Linked DNA regions of Homo sapiens: region 1 is linked to region 2. Evidence: promoter capture Hi-C in 16 types of primary human blood cells and fetal thymus (Javierre and others, 2016). All regions are on one chromosome and are shown on one strand. The core of a region is centred on a gene start or on the middle of the fragment in contact, and the rest is flanking DNA. Distances in the headings are between cores, read along the strand shown.

Region 1 (2,769 bases), core at 170-2,669, 270 kb after region 2:
TAATCAGAAACAATGTTTCCACAGAATAAGATGTAAAGGTATCTGAGAAAAGAGCATGAGGAAGAAAAGTGTGGAAACGGTAAAAAGCAAGCATATGTAACGGATAAATTTCCAGTAGTATGAAAACAAAACTGTCAGTAGGAATAACTGACAGCTTAATGTGACTCCAAAATAAGACTTTAAAATTTTCTCTGAAATTCAGCACTAGAAGCAGCTTGTTAAAGAGAACAGGTCACCAGTGAATTAAGAATCAGGAGACTATGTATCCTTGGGCAAATCCACTTAATTCTCTTGGGCTTCAGTTTCCTTATCTGTAACATGAATCTGGGGAGGTAATCAATACCTGTATGCCCCCTTCGAAAGGTGTTCTTTCCATAATTCTGTATAAGAAATTAAAATCTATTCTCAGACATACAATCATAGCTCCACGATTGTTTTGTTTCAATTTTCATTTGCATCACTTTTTAACATTTTATAAACACATCTCTTCCGATTTCAGAGCATCTAGTCTATAGCAAGCCATTTCGGCTAGCAATTAATCAGTTCAAGTCTGGATGCCAATTTTATTTATTTATTTTTAATGTGAGGCATCCCATCTTTTCCAAACCCTAAGAAACAATGCCTAATCAAGCACCAATTTACCACACATAATGCCCTACAAAAAAGCTGACAAAATTATAATCAGTTCATTCTCTGACTATGCTTCACGCATATTAGCAAGGAATGACATCTAACAAGTCACAACTTAGTGATGAAAACTTGCTGGACCAGAGAACAGCTCCAGGGAAAGCGGCAGGGAGAGGTGGTCAAAGGGAAACAAGGAGGAGAATATCGGCACCCGGATCCGGCTAGACAAGCTGGATGGCAGGAAACGGGTAGGTACTTCCCAGGCCAGGTAGGAACTGGACGCCGGGTCGAGGTAGGCTGTGTTTACACCCCCTCCCACCTCAGCGGCCCCGACCTTCAGGAAACCCCGGGGGTCTCCACCAGGCTGGTCGCGCCCCTCCAATGCTAGTCAGCTGGGGCTCAGGGGCAAGGCGAGAAGAAGCCGTTGCTGCTGACAGGCTCGCAGCCCAGGGCTTCGGCAGGCAGGTACCACCAGCAGACCCCACCCGCCCCTCACGCCTACCCCTGGGTCGGAGCTCCGCAGGCCTCACGGCGGCCGCCACCGCCTCAGCCAAATTGAGGGGCTGCAGCTCCGGAAGAGCAGGCCGGGCACCAGTGCCCCAGCCCGCCCGCCTGCCGCCTCGGCCCAACCTCCCCGCAGTGGCGGCCAGCTTCCGGGCGCAGCACTGCTCGGCACCTAGTTGCCCGACAAGAAAAGTGCAGACATGGTACCTGCGCCTTGGTGCCCGGCCTGTTCCGCCTCAGCACTGCCGTCCCCTCCGCCATGACCATAGTGCCAGCGTCTAGGCGGCTGGAGTCGGTACCCGGATGTAGGGACGGCAGCCTGCGCGGGGGGCGGGGCAGAGCGGCGCTCTGCGTCTGGGAGGAGGAGCGGCAGCTGACGGAACAGCTGCAGCCTGCGCCGGGAGCCGTCCGGGTAGAAGCGGGCTAGGCGGAGGGAGAGGGCGAACGAGGAACAGCCGGACGGCGTCGGGTGGCTACTGGCAGGGACTGAGGCACCGGAAGGCGGGCGCCACGAGCCTCTTTGCGAGGGCTGCGGGGCGGTTTGAAAGGTCGTGATCGCAGCGACCGCTGCGGCAGTGTGCACGGCTGCGTTGCACGTTGGTATGGGCTCTCGTTAGTTACACGGGAAGAACGAACTTCGTATAGTGGCGACCGTTTCAGTAAACCCACCTGCAAGCAAATACTTAGAGAACCGTAATTCTGTCCCAGAAGCCACCTAAGGAATCAGGGTAGAAAACAGGCCAGCAGTCTTGGCAAATTCTATAGAACCTGCGTGAAATCGACCCAATCTGAAATCAGACGGGGGATTTGAGTGTCAGTGTTATTTACGCCATCCGGCGACTTCAAAGCCAAGGACTTTTTCAATGACAAGTTTGTTTACGTAGATAAAAGACGCAGATGTCAATTATGTGAGATGAAGAGTGGACATCTGGTTTTGTGCGTTAGGCAGACAGATTTAGCTCGTGTTTTTCAAGTCAGAAGCAGGAGGAGGAAATTAGTAGTCCTTGACAGGTGGTGAGGGTTTTACATCTTACAGGATTCCACATTTCCTTTGTTGCAAATTTTAAGTGTTCTCTCTTAAGAAACCACAGCATTTTCGCAAACTTTTTTTCCTGCTTAGAAACCTTGAATCTTTTATCTGGGGTGAGGGAGGCCTTGGGATAGCAGATGGGAAGACAGTTCAAAAAGTAAAAAACGCATACAGTAGCATGATTTCCAAAAGAAGAAAACATCAAGTGTCCCTAGATAGAAGGTGTATTGAGAATGCTGAGGGAAGGGCCATGTAACAGCTTCCAGAAATGGAATTTGAGAGGAGAGGAGAGGTTGAGTGGGTCTCTAGCTGAGTAATTGTCAGTGACTTAGAACTAGGCATTGAAGGGTTTAACAACAGGAAGTTGGTTCTCTCTGGAAGATGTATTGACTGGTAACTCTTCAAGAATAGGGACTTAATTTTGCCCTCCCAGAACCAGCGTCTACATATGAAAAGATTATTCGTTCAACAGATACTCATTAAGCCCCACTATATGGTAGGCACTAATGTACAAGTATGATAAGGCTCAGTCCTTCACTACAAATTGCCTTGACTCCAGCAACAGAGACGTGCAAATCACAAATTCTTATACAGGTTAAGTACCCCTC
Region 2 (2,880 bases), core at 97-2,596:
AGAGCGGCGTCCGCGGCTTCTCGGGAGCCCCCGAGTTTTGCGAGTCAGGCCCCGAGAGTCAGAGTTTGACTCTAGAACCTTCTTCGCTTTACACCAGTCTTCGGAAGTCGCCCGTCAACCGGCTTCTTCTACCTCAGTAAAGCCTTAAGGTCACCTCAACCTCTCGAAACCCACCAGTCCCAGAGGCCGACTCTTCTCAAGTGGAGGAGAGGGGAAGGCGTGCATGGAGCTTTGCCTGACCGCTCGCTCTCTCCTCCCCAGCCGTCTGAGAGAAGGCGAGAGGGGTCCCAGAACCGAGCCCTCGCTCCGCACGCCCCACGCCCGCCCCGCTGTGCCGTGCGCTCTGCCCCTGAGACGCCCCGGCTCGGAGTCCCAGGGCCACAGCCGAAACTCGCCCTCCCGCGCCCCTCTCCGGCTTGCAGCGCCCGCCCGCACCGCCACCTGCCACCCGAGGCGACGCAGTCCGCTTCTCCCCACCCGCCAGGTGGCAGGTTCAGGGCCGGGGTCCGAGCCTGCTTCCCTGCAGCTGCCACAGCCACCCTCGCCGCCAGGGGGCGAGAGTCCCAGGCAGGACAAGCAGCGCTGCTGCCTTGGCGTGAAGGTGGTTTCAAACTTTAGGCTTCTTTTCCCTACCCCGCGTCTCTGAAGAGCAGAGAGGAAGATGGAAACCGAGTCCGGGCCGGTGAGTACGGCGATCAGGGCCCCAGGGCGCGGGATAGCGGGGAGAAGGAGCAGCGTGGAGCCTGTCCCTGAGGGCTTGGAGGGGCGAGGTGAAGGCCCCAAACGCTCGCTATCTGGTTGGGAAGAAACGTGGCCAGGTGCCCCATCGACCGCTGCCAGGAGCCACCCGCCCGCAGACCTCGTCTGGCTGTGTCATGGGGGTCAGAAAGGCGCCGCCACGGGGCCTGGACTGGGTGTAGACGGGCCAGGGGACCTCAGGCGTGGATGTTTCGGGAGGCGGCGGGCTGCCAGGCACCCAGCGAAGTCCGAGCAGGTAAACCGCTTTCCCGCCGAAATTGGGCTAGGCAGCGTCTTTGACGCTCCCTGCGGCCGAACTCGACCCAGCCGCCCAAGGCGAGGAGTTGCCAGGGCGGTCGACGCCTCCACTCCCCGACTGGTCAGCGAGGACCGGAAGGTCTGAGAGACCTGGCAGGGCCCGCCTGTGGCCCAGGCGGGACCCGGACACTCTAGCCCTGGCTGTGCACCCAAGCCAGTCAGGGTGGACTTGGGGAAGTGAAGGAGGACTGCCCGCACAGGCCCGAGGCGCAGCGGCAACGTGCCATCCCGCCCCGCCCCGTCCCGCCGCCAGCAGCCAATCAGGGAGCGCCGCGCGAGGGTGGGGACCAGCTGCGCACGAGGCCAGCGGCGGGGTCGCTGCCGTTGAGGCTTCCCGCCACTGCTGCTGGCGGATTTGTGGGGCAAAATTTCTCGCTGGCTAGCCTTCTTTTCCCTCCCGCACTTTGGTGGGGAGGGGGTGGATCCTCGTTTCGGTGCCCAAGTTCACGATGACCCGAGAGAACTCGAGGAAGTTGTCGCCGCGGCCATTTCCCCCAGTGCCGCAACTTGCTGGCCTTGGAGGGGGAGGAGCGCCGAGGCAGTGACTGCGACGGTTAGCCCGCCCGTTCCTGCTGTCTTCGTTTGCAAAATAGATGCTAGATCTCGAGGTTGATTCTCAAGGGGAGGGGCCAGTGAGGGCACATTGCTTTGGAGGAGTAGTTTAATAAACTCTCTAGTGCTGGAAGTTTTAGCAAACGGAGGAGCCTTCAAACCCGGCAACAGTCCCCATCTAGGTGTTTCCGTAACACATGCGGAATTATTGCTAGTGGAATTTCAGGCTTTCTTTGTTGTTTAACTCAATGCATCGCTAATTGTTTATAATGAACTTAGATGTTGCCTCCACCTGAGCCTTGCTATTGCTAACATTAAAATATTTTGTAGGCCTGGCGCGATGGCTCCCGCCTGTAATCCCAGCACTTTGGGAGGCCAAGGTGGGCGGATCACGAGGTCAGGAGATCGAGACCATCCTGGCCAAAATGGTGAAAACCCATCTCTACTAATACAAAAAAATTAGCTGGGCGTGGTGGTGCGCACCTGTAGTCTCAGCTACTCAGGAGGCTGAGGCAGGAGAATCTCTTGAACCAGGGAGGCGGAGGTTGCAGTGAGCCGAAATCACGCCACTGCACTCCAGCCTGGCGACAGAGCAAGACTGTCTCAAATATATATATATATATATATATATATATATATATATATATATATATATATATATATATGTATTAGACTGCTGTTATACTGTATTCTTTAGCCTTCAGCCTATTTGGCATATCATGAGCAGGTCTCTCCTGAAGAAATGATTCACTTTTAGTCATTCAACAGATATTTATTGAGCACCTGCTGTGTACTGTCAGTACTTTAGATGCTGCCATGAAAAAAGCAAAACTTCTGCCCTGGTGCATTACATAATAGTGGAGACAGATAATAAACATACTAAGTAAACTATATCGTATGTTAGAAAATGATGAGGGAGAAAACTTAAGCAGAGCGAGCCCACAATAGAGCCTTAGAGAGTGGAGGAGAATGAAGTGAATTGAGTGTGAAAGGTTGTTTTTCTTTTCTCAGGGAGTATCCTTTAGTTTCTCGAGATTGGAAATAAAGCACTGTTTACTTCCGTTCATTTCATCCTTCTCTCAATGAAATATAATGGGGTTTGTCTTTTACTTAAACTTGCGAACATATTAGTACATCTTATTTTCAATAAGAGAATTTCATGAAGAATGATTTTTTAAATTTAGCAAATAGGTAATTTTGACACTGTAAACAAATGGGCAGAAAGACAAGATTACATCTACTAGAGCTGTTATATTATCTCTAGCAATACAA

Evidence for each region. The method cuts DNA at HindIII sites, captures the fragments that hold promoters and counts their contacts. A CHiCAGO score of 5 or more calls a contact.
Region 1: the fragment with the promoter of MOB4 here is called in contact with the fragment with the promoter of BOLL in region 2 in 4 of 17 cell types (megakaryocytes, erythroblasts, activated CD4 T cells and 1 more); the score reaches 7.6 in megakaryocytes.

What each region holds. Positions count from the first base shown.
Region 1 is chr2:197,514,716-197,517,484 of GRCh38, reverse strand. MOB4 (MOB family member 4, phocein) reads right to left here and starts at 1,419. Exons shown (of 8, transcript NM_015387.5): 1 at 1,339-1,419. The coding sequence starts at 1,398. The region is part of intron 2 of HSPE1-MOB4 (HSPE1-MOB4 readthrough); the gene reads right to left. RefSeq lists a silencer at 1,361-1,580. The HindIII fragment of the contact is 18,120 bases long and covers 1-2,769 here.
Region 2 is chr2:197,783,785-197,786,664 of GRCh38, reverse strand. BOLL (boule RNA binding protein) reads left to right here and starts at 1,346. Exons shown (of 11, transcript NM_033030.6): 1 at 1,346-1,609. RefSeq lists an enhancer at 1-170. The HindIII fragment of the contact is 5,410 bases long and covers 1-2,880 here.